Linked DNA regions of Homo sapiens: regions 1 and 3 are each linked to region 2. Evidence: promoter capture Hi-C in 16 types of primary human blood cells and fetal thymus (Javierre and others, 2016). All regions are on one chromosome and are shown on one strand. Each heading gives the region's core, a stretch centred on a gene start or on the middle of the fragment in contact. The rest is flanking DNA. Distances are from core to core; before and after follow the strand shown. Region 1 overlaps GPR139 (G protein-coupled receptor 139). Region 2 holds the start of GP2 (glycoprotein 2). Region 3 has its middle 63 kb from the start of GPR139.

Evidence for each region. Contacts are between HindIII fragments. The CHiCAGO score rates a contact against its expected background, and 5 or more counts as called.
Region 1: a contact is called between a fragment that was not itself captured here and the fragment with the promoter of GP2 in region 2, in 2 of 17 cell types (M2 macrophages and endothelial precursors). The highest score is 6.2, in M2 macrophages.
Region 3: a contact is called between a fragment that was not itself captured here and the fragment with the promoter of GP2 in region 2, in 3 of 17 cell types (M2 macrophages, endothelial precursors and M1 macrophages). The highest score is 6.5, in M2 macrophages.

The regions. Positions count from the first base shown.
Region 1 is chr16:20,026,583-20,030,524 of GRCh38, forward strand. It overlaps GPR139 (G protein-coupled receptor 139), which reads right to left. Exons shown (of 2, transcript NM_001002911.4): 2 at 1,657-3,942. Among named protein-coding and RNA genes, the nearest start is that of GPR139, 45 kb to the right of the region's middle. The HindIII fragment of the contact is 5,491 bases long and covers 1-3,942 here.
Region 2 is chr16:20,325,562-20,329,870 of GRCh38, forward strand. GP2 (glycoprotein 2) reads right to left here and starts at 1,952. Exons shown (of 11, transcript NM_001502.4): 1 at 1,906-1,952; 2 at 777-906. The coding sequence starts at 870. The HindIII fragment of the contact is 1,228 bases long and covers 1,077-2,304 here.
Region 3 is chr16:20,008,888-20,013,055 of GRCh38, forward strand. No RefSeq gene overlaps it. Among named protein-coding and RNA genes, the nearest start is that of GPR139, 63 kb to the right of the region's middle. The HindIII fragment of the contact is 3,974 bases long and covers 642-4,168 here.

The DNA.
Region 1 (3,942 bases), core at 975-3,474, 300 kb before region 2:
TTATCCCCCTTGTTGTGTCTGGCAAGTACTTGGGATTAATTGCACACTCTCCAAAGAGGCCGGACTATCACATTTAGCTGAGTGCACTAATAAAAGGATTATTATTTAATGGTTCAACCTCCTTCAACTCTCCTTTGTCCTGCCTCCCTGAATTGGAGAACAAAATTAATGAGGCTGCTGTGGCCATGCCCAAGAGCTTCTGTTTGCCACCCTTTCAGCAAATTCTTTGCTTTTCTGCACTTCCCCCTCAACTCCTAAGTCACTTTTATTCTCCAAGTTGATGCAAAGATGGATTGTGACAATAGTTTGTGGGTGGCTGTCAGAATTGATGGTGGTTTGTGTGGGAAAATGCATAGCAAGTTTGAGAGCTATGGTTAGGATTCCACATAGAGTCAATTAAAAAAAGTTCTACTCACAAGGAAAGGTCAAGCTGAGAGTTTTAATTATGAGGCTGTTATAATATATATCATGCCTGAATGATCTGGGTTTGAAGAGTTGCAAAATTATGCAATGCACCCAACTCTAAAATGGGCATAAAACCAATGTGATGTTTTGGGGGAATGACTTAGAATTTTGCAAAGAAGATAATGAGGTGAAGTGAAAAGGATGGAGTGTTGAGTGACCTGGGTTCCATTCAGGCCCAGATCATTGACCTCTTTGGGCCTAGCATCCTCACCTATAAAATGATGTACAATTGGAGGCTTTTTAAAAAACTCTGCTACTAATAATCACTTTATAAGTTACCTACTGGAATTATAATTAGCTCCATTTTATGGAGAGAAAATTGAGACTCAGAGAGAGAGAGATTGAGAACATTGCTCAAGTTCACATAGCCAGGAAAGTTATAGCCTGTAATAACTGACTCCAAATCTTGGGTTCCTGACTATAAGAGTTTCTACATACCTTGAAGACAACTGGAAAAAATTTAAATTATGCACCGTTTTCTAGATGAGGAAAGTCCTTAGGAAATCTCCAAGGACTTGCTCAAGGCCATTCATCTAGTAAATGGGGGAGCTGGGACATGAACTCGTGACTGTCTGACATCAAAGCCCAAGCTCTTAGACATGATGCTGGATTTCCAGTTATGATTATTAAAAAATCATCCTTCACTGTCTCAAAGATGTACAGAGGATGTGATCAGCAGAGAATTCAGATTTATACCCAGTAAACTACCTAAATGAGGATTGTAGGGAGCACAGTTCAGTGGTCTTAAATTCTGAACTATATCTGCTAACCAGGAGACAGATGGAACTCTGGTTTTATTCTAGCACCCAGCACAATGTATAAGAAAGATGTCCACTTAAATGTTAAATGTTTAAACCAGCATTCTGCAATTTGGAAGATATCATGCTTAGTGAAATGAGCCAGGCACAGAAAGACAAATACTATATGATTTCACTTATATGTGGAATCCAAAAGAGTCAAACTCATAGAAGTAGAGAGTAAAATGATGGTTACCAGAGGCTGGAAGTAGGTGAGAAGCAGGGAATGGGAGATGTTTGTCAAAGGGCACAAAGTTTGTTAGATGGAAGAAATAAATTTTGAGATCTATTGCATAGCAGGGTGAGTGGAGTCGGTAACAATGTATGTTTCAAAATAACAGATAATAAATTTCAAATTTCTCACCACAAAAAAAATGATAAGTGAAGTGACAGATGTGTTAATTTAGCTTGATTTAATTATTCCACATTGTATACATATATCAAAACATCACATTGTATCCCATAAATGTATACAATTATGATTTATCAATTAAAAATAATAGTAATAAAAATCAGCATACTGCAATTGCTTGAACATAGATGCAAATACCAAACACCAAGTGTGCACCATATTAGAATTTATTATAATACAAACAAGTCCAAACACAATATATAATCTAATTAAGAAAATATGAACATTTGCTTTTTTTCTATGGTAACTTTCTATTCCATTCTCTGAACTGGAATAGCCAACATTAGAGTCTTTTATTCACTTCGGGTAGGCTCCCCATGTTGAACCAGGAGGTACCAAATGTGCAAAGTGATCTTTTCCAATAGCAGGGTGTTTGCAACACACAAGTTCGTGCCCACTCCGGTCTGTCTTTTATGGTTTGTCTGTCATTCCCCTCATTTCCTTCCCCATGAGACATTTCAGCCGTCAAGTTGTTCAATAAAAAGACACAGCATGGTGGTGCGTATCATCATTGCAATGTCCAACCAAGGACACAAATCATATAGCAAGAGAGAAGCTAGTTAACTGTCTTTGAAAGAGGCACCACAAAAACCCACGATAAGGCAATTGCTTTAGTGCCACCAGCAGCAGCCATTTACATGACAGGCTTCAAAGTTCAAGGCTTTATTGTCAAAACTGGCCTGAAAGAAAAGGCTTACAAGTTTTTAAAGTTTTAAAGTTAAAAAAAACCCATTTCATGATGTCCATAATTATTACTATAAATAATAATAAAAGTCCTTAGATAGTTTGAAATAAATTTTAAGAGATATGAATCAACCTAACCCAATGGGCATTCATTTGCATTTTAAGCAGAAGACAGCAATTCACTACAGTGCCTTCAAGAATTGGACCTCTTTTAAATATCATGTAGCAAAATATAAAATATATTCGGAGGAAAAGAGATCACAATACCACGTGGTAGAGCCTCTATCATCGAGAAGTAATAAATTAAAGTGTCTGAGGAAAATGTTCCCAATGCACACCCAGTTTTTAAACATCAACAATTAATTGTTACACACAATTAAAAATATGGAGCAGAGAGCATGGAGAGTCACATACATATTTTCCATCTTATATACATTCTCAAAAAGGAATTGCTTAACCTTTGTAGATATTGCACTTTGACTCATTCATGTGTAGCTCAAACTAGCATTTTTCAGAGCTACATGTTTAAAAAATAAATAAATAAATATATATATATATATATATTCAGTATAGGTAGCCTTTGGTCAATGTCCATTCATAAGGGGGTGTAGTGGCGTTGCATCACACACACATTTAATGAACACATGTTCAATTACACGTGCTTGGCAAAAAAGAGACAGAGAGAAATGCAATTTAAGGGAGGTGAGGGAATCTGCTTACCATTCCACTCAATGAGCATACGCCCTGGGGAGCGTGGGAGATGGGAGATCTGTCCCTCAGTCAGACGACTTCCATGAACTTCTTTGAGTGGAAGCATCTTGATGCACCAGGGTGGTCCTAATGTTCTCAGATACATTAGAATCACACAATATGGTCCCTAAATGAGAGCCAATTCTGTCTTGTCATCAACCAGAGAAACAGCAACTTGTTCCAATGCTAGAGAAAAACTTAGCTGTGTTAGGTTTTGAAAGCAATGGAATATAATCTCCAACATGGCTCTTTTTTGAGGATCTTTTGCAAAGGTAACTTTGGCTCTGTAAGGTTTTATCTTTTGCACTGACTTTAGAATCTAATCCTTGGCTCTGATGAGATTCTATTGCGATCCTTTAAAAGGGGTAAGAATTAGGATCATCAGGACTAATATGACCTAAGTTTGTATTGAGTTAGTATTGAGAGCATTGGCTGAAGTTTAGGGTTTGTGTTGCCATGGGGCCTTTTCTTATCCCATTCATTTATTGCAAATTCCCTTAAAAAAGATAGACATGTCTTCCAACTTAGGGACAAAATGCAGTAAAAATCCAGCCTGAGGAACTAAATATTCCAGGTGGACTGTCTGCCGTTTTTTGGTCACCAAAAATGTCATGCAATTTCAAAGTCAGTTTGGCAAATTTATTCCAAAACAGGGATGAATTCGAATACTGGGAATCTGAGGGAGAAGTTAAAAAAAAAAGAAGAAAAAAGAAACACTAAATAAGACGAATATAATCATGTGTGTGTGTGTGCTGCACACATAAGTAGCAATTTCCAGGGATGCCCCTATTCATTACATCCTAGAAATGTTCTTGCCTTGGACAGGCAAGGGTA
Region 2 (4,309 bases), core at 702-3,201:
TATGTGTAAAATGCCAAGCACAGCACCAGGGTCAAGCTAATTGTCTTCTCTAGTTCTATTTTGTTGAATGCTGTAGATGCCTGAAGAAGGAGCTAAGTGCACACACAGGATCATGTGCTTACAATACACATTAAAGGGGCTTTCTAAAAAAAAGAGATTTTCAAGCTTTGCACATGCTTATAATACACATTAGAAGGGCCTTTCAGAAAAAAAGATTTTCAAACTTTGCTCATGCATGTACTTATTTTAAGACAAGGAATCACTGCATTTGTTATTCTTAGATTGTATTTTTCCACTGGAGGCCTCCAATGAGCTCAGTACCCTCTCCCACCCTCCTCCAGGGGCTGAAATTTGCACTCTAATTCTAAGCCTGAGACTCCTTTCTGCAAGTATCTGAATTGCCCACTTCATAAAGAGATCACTTAATCTAGCCCTTTCAGGAAAAGGAGAAGGCACTTGCCAGCACAAGGTGACTGAGTTATGTATTTCTTGATCTTCTTTAATCTGGGGTCTCTAATCTCCCAAAGATATGGGCATGGGAAATTATGTTAACTGGCTCCCACTGCCCTTTCAGAGGAATTTCTGATTAGGCTCTTTGAGAGATTGTGACTTGATTTCCATTGTTTCTCATTATGTTTCCCTTGACTTCTAGCTCTGAGTTTTTGCTTTAGAACTGCCAATTCCTCTTCCTTACCTGAGCCACCTTCTCTGCACTTCTATCCTCACTTGCTAGGTCTTCCTTGACATCTGAGATGCCAGGTGAGCAGAATACTTACCTCGCTGCACTGCAGATGCCTGGGTCAGAATGCAGGAGACCAAGGCCAGCCACAGGAGGCCAGAGCCCACCATCCTTTCCATAAGGTGAGGCATGCAGGTCACTTTGCTGTATGCAGACTTCCCATGCAGCTATGGGAAAGAAAAGACCAAGATAAGATTAGGGCATAGGTCTATGTTCTTAGAAACAGATCCGTTGACTTCCTTCATAAAGAGCTGCATTGTTTCAAAGTAGGTGTGACTTATGGACAGATAGAGCGAGATAATGGGTGATAAAATTGACAGTAAGCAAACCAAAGGCAAGCTTAGAGCTGGCTAGTACTGCAGAATGTCCTAGAAAGGTCTCAGGATGGTCCCTGCTCAGGTGGAAGTAGAGGCTCTTTGGAGATTGGATAGAGAAAAAGGGATATGGTACCTGTGAATACCTGCACACAAAAGTAATGGCTGCCCTTTCTTAGTTTTATGCATTGGGTGCTGCTAAGAGCCCCCTGAAATGTCCTCTATGGATGTAGATTTCTGTGACTGTGGAACCATGCCAAACCGAGCCTCATGTTCCTTGCTCCTAGTACAGAATCTGGCACACAAGGAGTACTCAGTAGAGGATTAAGGATGAATAAATAAATCAATGGGGGTTGGGGGCGGTGGCGAGGCAGAAAGAAAGAGCTGCAAAAAAGCCTGCCAGCATTTGGATGGCATTTACTTTTCTGGGAAATACTTTCCCTAAATGGCCAAATCTTTGGATAACTTCCTACAACCTCTGGAAGACTTCAGTGGAAAATAGAGATCGGTTTCGGGCAGGGATACCATGAGTATGCTATGAGACAGCAGGGATAGGGAAGCACCCAGGATTGGTGATTCTTAGAGATGAGATCCCAATAGAGACCTAGTTCCCTGGTGGGAATATCTGGGACAAGGAAGAGGGTGGCGTCCGTAGGCCTGGAGCATCGCAGATGACTGGAAGCATGACTGAGTTGGACATAGAGTGGTACCTGGAGCACTTGACAATGGCCAGGGTCCAAACTACTTGCTGGGTTCTAAAAATTTCCAGAAACAAAGAATCCTAGCATGTCCAGTGGATCAAGATTTCCCAGGATTAGGAGGAAGCCTCCTGGGGCTTAAAGCAGGACTTACCTCCGATGAGAACACAAAGCGTTCCTCCTCTGGCCAGCCATGGGAATGCAGCCTGCTGTGGGCCGTCTTTTTATTGCAATTTCCCACCCATGTGTCTCTCCTCAATTGGTGCACAGGTATGATGGGAGTTCTAGGCCATACACTGGGCTTGTTGAGTGGAGGTGAGATAAGCCATTTACGCAAAGGATGGTGAAAGAAGGGCCCTCCCCTCACAATGTCAACCCTTCCAGCTGTCTCAGCATTGTGCGAATGCTTCCTACAAACAATAGTGCTGTGTGCTGAATGCTGAACATGCTGGGCACTGCTTTGCGTTCTTGACTTCTCACATTTAATCTTCATAATTAATCAATGAAACTGGTGCCATATTTATTACCAGAAACCAAACACGAATTGAAAGGAAGCTTAATACCCAAAGGGAAGTGAAGAGAAAATCAAACAGGCACTTGTTTGCACAATGGATTTTCAGTTGTACCTTGTGTTCCTAGCTAATCATCTTGGAACATTTCTGCTTCTGTCTGAAGGCCACTGAGCTTGGGGCCAGTTAGACTAAGAGGACACATAGGAAAGGAAAGAAGGGAGTGTGGATGTTTCGAAAAATTCCATTTATTGGTCCATAGAATCTACCCAACTCCGGATTTCTAATGCTGAGCAGTTTTGGAATGGCTAATTTGGTGATGATGGATTTTGGAATGGCAAAGGACAGACAAAGGTTCTTGGACAAAAGAAGCACCAGAGTAGCCCCTGTAAATCCCTTTTGATATGTAGGCTGCCCTAGAGATTGGAAGGCATGAGACTGAGAAGAGGCTGTAGAGGATCTTGGACTTATTAACTCCAGGCTTGGACCTGGCTTTCATGACATGGTAGAAATCATGGACTTCATAAAAGAGCCAAAGCTTTTGCAGAAAAAATGGCCACTGCTTCTTCTCTGTCACTCTGGGACTCCTTAAGGAGCCAAGGCAACTGGAGTCAAGGGAGCAGGAGGGTCTTGGCATTGGTAACACCTTCTACAAAACCTCAACCTGGAAAAAGAAAAGGTGCTACAAGCCACCTTCTCTACTCCCAGAGCAACTGGAGAATAAATAGTCTCTAAAATGTGGAACTTGTGACAACTGGGCCCACTAAATCACCTACTGATCCATTCAGTCTGGCCAGGTGCCCATCCCAGTCTCCCCAGTGGCCACTCTTAACCTTCCCATTCCTCTTAAATGGTCTCTGCAGCTATTATCACCCACTCACACCACCTTTCTCAGCAGATATCTGGTACCCTACTTCAAAAACAATTTAGGCCACAACACCTGACCTTGCTCCTTCCCCTGTAAACATATAAATACTGGTCTCCATCCTCCACCCCTTCCCCCTCCAACTTCTGATAAGGCGATGTTCCTCCTTTTCAAAGTCAGTTCCTCCATCCCTCTTCTGGCTTCTCCATTCCAATCTGAACCATGTAGCTACAACTTTATAGCCAAATCCACTGGGTAGTTTGTTTCTGCTCCTTTGTGATTGGATTTGCCTACTGCTTGTTCCGGGTACCTTGCATTTCCTTGACTCCGCATGTTCATATTTTCTTGATTCTCCTGTTTCTACCTGGAGATTTCTGCTCTGTTGCTACAAGATCCTGTCTCTAAGAATGCTGGTTAGGTCCCATTTTTCTTTTCACGTCATAAACTCTCCCTGGGAGGTATCAAGTTATCTCATGGTTTCACATACCATCTCCAGGCTGGTGAGTTCTGAATCCGTATCCCCAGCTTTCGCTACTCCCTTGAACTTCAGTTCCATCTACCTATTGATTGCTGGACCTCTCACTGCCGCTGAGATGCTTGAGACACCTCAAACTCAGCAAGTGCAACTCTGAGCTCATCAAGTCACCTAAATCTTCTCCTCCTCATTGTATGATCTATTTTAATCAAAGGTGCCACTTGCCTCCCAGTCATCCAAGCTGGAAACTTGGCCTCTTCCTTTCTAAGCTCCTTCCTTTCTCCCTCTGCTCCCATTTCCAATAATCCTTTCTTCTCCATCTCCACCTCACCAATCCAAATTCGGGCCACCATTCCTTATGAAGGTAATTTTTTTTTTTTAGCAAGAGTCTTGCTCTGTTGCCCAGGCTACAGTGCAGTCACGTGATCATAGGCTCACTGCAGCCTTGATCTCCTGGGCTCAAATAATCCTCCCACCTCAGCCTCCTGAATAGCTGGGACTACAGTTGTAGGCCACCACATCTGGCTAATTTTTAAACTGTTTTGTAGAGGCAGCATCTTGCTATGTTGCCCAGGCTGGTCTTAAACATTTTGGCTTAAATTATCTTCCTGCCTTGCCCCCACAAAGTGCCAGGATTACAGACCTGAGCCTCTGCGCCCTGTCCAGAGTCATTTTAATAGCTGCCCAACAGGTCTCCCTGCTTTCATTC
Region 3 (4,168 bases), core at 1,379-3,878, 320 kb before region 2:
AATGTAGACTTAAGTTATTATTGACTATAGTCACTTTGTTGGGCTATCAAGTAGTAGGTCTTATTCATTCTTTCTAACTATTTTTTGCACCCCTTAACTATACCATATCCCTGTCAGGCCCCCCAACTACCCTTCCCAGCCTCTGGTAACCATCCTTCTACTCTTGATGTCCATGAGTTCAGTTGTTTTGATTTTTAGATCCCACAAATAAGTGAGAACATATGATGTTTGTCTTTCTTTGCCTGGCTTATTTCACCTAACATAATGATCTCTAGTTCCATCCCTGTTGTTATAAAGGTACTACATTTGTATTGGTATTTCTTTCTTTTTATTGCTGAATAGTTTCAATTGCATGGATATGCTGTGTATGGGGACTATTTGAAAGTTCCTCAGGTGATTATAATGTGCAGACTGGGTTGAGAACCATTGAACTAAACCATTCTGTTATGAATAAGAACATTTGAGACACCCAAGCAAACATTTTTAAGTTTCTCCTGGTTTATAAAAAATCAGTGAAACTCCCCCAGCCTTATACCTCCATGCAGCGAGTGGCTTTTTCCTTGAACCTTCCTTCTTGATAAACTTCTTGGCTAGCGTCCCCAGTTTCTCTCTCCTACTTACTTCTCAGCCTTCTAGCACCAAGCTTCTGACATGACCACTGCTTGAAAACTGCTAAAGCTGAAGGAGATATTTCTGTCAACCTTGGTCTTAGCCTTGGGAGCATTTGTTCCAGGAATTGCTTCCTCCTTCTTGAAACTTGGACACTACATCATCAAAATTTTATGTTTTTCCTCTGAATTCCTGTTTCTTTTCATAAATATTTTATTTGTATTAGTTTTCTACTATTGTGTAACAAATTACCACACAGTGACTTAAAACAACACACATTTATGATCTCAGTTTCTGTGGATCAGGAGTGCAGGCACAGCTTACCTGGGTCTTCTGCTAGCATCTGTGAAGGCTGCAATTAAAGGGTTGGCCATACTTGGGCTGTGTTCTCATCTGGAGTCTTGACTGGGGAAAAATTCCATCCCAAACTCAGTGAGGTTGCTGCCAGAATTCATTTCCTTGTAGCTATATGACTGAGGGTCAGGCTTCTTGTTGAGTGTCAGCTGGGGGTGGCTATTAGGTCTTAGAGGGTCACTCATGGTTTTCTGCCATCTGGCCTTCTCACAACAAGGCAGTTTATTTCTCCAAGCCTGTAAGAGTCTCTCACTCTAGTCAGTTAAGGCAGAAAATTATATAATATAAAGTAATCACAAGAGTGGCATCCATCGCCTTTGCCGTATTCTATTGGTTTGAATCAAGTTACAGGTTCTACCTGCACTCGAGGGGAGGGAATTATGTAAGAACATGGTTTACTTTGGTGTTACTTTATGGTGTATCTACCATATCATTATAACATATTTTAAGGCACAGAAACCCATAGGAGATAACAGGAAGGATACTCATCTGTAAAATTTCTTGACACTTTGCCTTGTGTGTTTCAGAATTTTCTAAAGTAATAAAACCCATCAGATAGAGTTGCAGTCCCTTGTGTTTGTCCCCTTCTTATTTCTCCCTCTTGTCCAGGAAGTAACCACTATAAAAAATTTGGAATTGCACATTTTTATTCATGTTTTTATACTATTTCTATAAATGTATATATGCATGTATGGAAACTATATAAATGGAATCATACTGTACATGGGCTTCAACTTTCAATATTCCCTTTTTGAGGTTCATCCATGGTGACACATGTGGCTTTAGTCTATTCATTTGCTTTGTGTCCTAGTATTATCTCTCTCTCTTTTTGAGACAGAGTCTTCCTCTGTCACCCAGGCAGGAGTGGTATGATGTTGGCTTACTGCAGCCTCTGCCTCCTGGTTCAAGTGATTCTCCTGCCTCAGCCTCCCGAATAGCTGGGACTACAGGCACGTGCCACCACACCCTTCAACTTTTTTTTTTTTTTTTTTTTGTACTTTTAGTAGAGATGGCATTTCACCACATTGGCTAGGCTGGTCTTGCACTCCTGACCTCAAGTGATCCACCGCCCTGGCCTCCCAAAGTGCTAGGATTACCGGCATGAGCCACCATGCCTGGACATATTCCATTTATTTATTCATTCTCCTATTGATGGACATATAGATTGCTTCCAATTTCTTTTTGCTGATGCATCAATCATGCAAGAAACATTGTCATACCCATCTCTTTGAGCATGTGTGTGAGAATTTTTTTCCTAAAGGACACACCTGGAAATAGAATCGTTTGGTTGTGAGGTAATGCATCGGCAATTTTAAAATACATTTCCCAGTTTCTCTTCATAGTGGGTATAACCATTTTCACTCCCACCAAACACCCTTGTCTTTTTCATATCTGCCCAAGACTTGAGGTTGTCTGTTTCTTTTAATGATTATAAATCTGATAGGTGTAAAAATTGCTGATATGTTCAGTCACATTCCTGATTTTTAGTGAACTAGAACATAGTTTTTATTTTTATTCACCATCCAGGTTTCCTCTTCTAGGAATTGCCTATTCATAGACATAAAATTTATCCCTTTTTTTCAAACATGTGTCAAGGTGACCCGACCTGGAAGAGGGACCTGTTTCTACCTGTGGTTAGAATGTGGCACTGCTTTAGCCCCTCAGTGGCCTTTTCATGGTGGCTTTTGTCAGGAATGGCAGCAATGAGATCCTCTGAAGTTCTTCATAATCAAGAGATGTCAACAAGGAAGACCCGGGACAAGAGGGGAGGAATGGGGAGGACTCCACGTGGAGATGATAGCTGGACAGCTGAGGATGCATGAAATGCACGCAGAGACTCCCAGAAATATTGAACAGGGGACCTGCGTGAATACATGGAGGCAAGCCATGGAAAATGTAAGACACTGGGATGAATGGAGCATTTTCAAGGTAGCTCTTTCTGTGTTTATAGCAAGGTGAGGCAGGGGTATATTTGTTACACAGTTTAGCCTTTTCTGGACTTGGGGATACTATTGGCATCAGTTAGTTCCTTTTATAACTCTAGCAGCATATGTGTAAACCAAAAAGAAAAGTTAATCTTCCAAAAACAATGTTGCTTCCCCAGGCATGATCTCTCATATCATAAGGTCTCCTTCTGTCTCCTTGATTCATTTCTTCATTTCCTTCATGTCTACAGGAATAAATCACAGAAGGCTAGTTCTGGGATCATCACTTAGGGGTTATTTGGAACCCATGTATGGGAGAGTTTTGTCTTAAGCTAAGCAGAGCTCTTGTAAGCCTTGTCTGTCCACATCATCTGGATCCCTCATCAGGTGTTTGTGCGTAAGGACCAAACTCCAAAATCCATGGTAGCCAATAATCCTGACATTTTTGGAGGACCAGCTACTTCAGAGTGACTTTCAATCTTGGATTATTTAGGTCACTAATTAAAACAACAACAACAACAAACTGCCTTTGTGACCTCAATATCCATCCATCCATCTATACATCCATCCATTGATTTATTTATCTATTCATCCCCAAACTATTTAATGAGTACAACTACTAAGTACTGGGCTTAAGGTTTGCAGAAGAAAATATTTTGTATTCTCCTGAGTAATGTGAACTTATTCCAGGATTCAATACCCTCCTTTTCATACTTATGCATAAATCACCTATAAGAAAACCCTTTTGTTTTATTTTATGAAGTGTAAATGTTGTTTTCTGATAATAAAATTGATGTATAATTGTATTAGTTCATCCTTGCACTGCTGTGAAGAAATACCTGAGACTGGGTAATTTATAAATAAAAGAGGTTTAATCGGTTCACAGTATAGGAAGCACAGTGGCTTCTGCTTCTGGGGAGGCCTCAGGAAACTTACAATCACAGCAGAAGATGAAGTGGAAGCAGGCATGTCTTACATGGCTGGAGGGAGCAGGAGGAAGAGAGAGAATGGGGAGGTGCCACATGCTCTTAAACAGATCTCATATTAACTCACTCACTCACTCCCATGAGAACAGCACCAAGGGGATGGTGCTAAACCATTCGTGAAAGTTCCAATCACCTCCCACCAGGCCCCACCTTCAACATTGAGGCTTACAACTGACCATGGTATCCAAACCATAGCAATAATCGTTGAAAAACCTTCATTAAATCAGATATTTACAATTTAGATAGTGAAAATTCTTTTAAAACAAGATGGAATTATACTATACCTCCTATTTT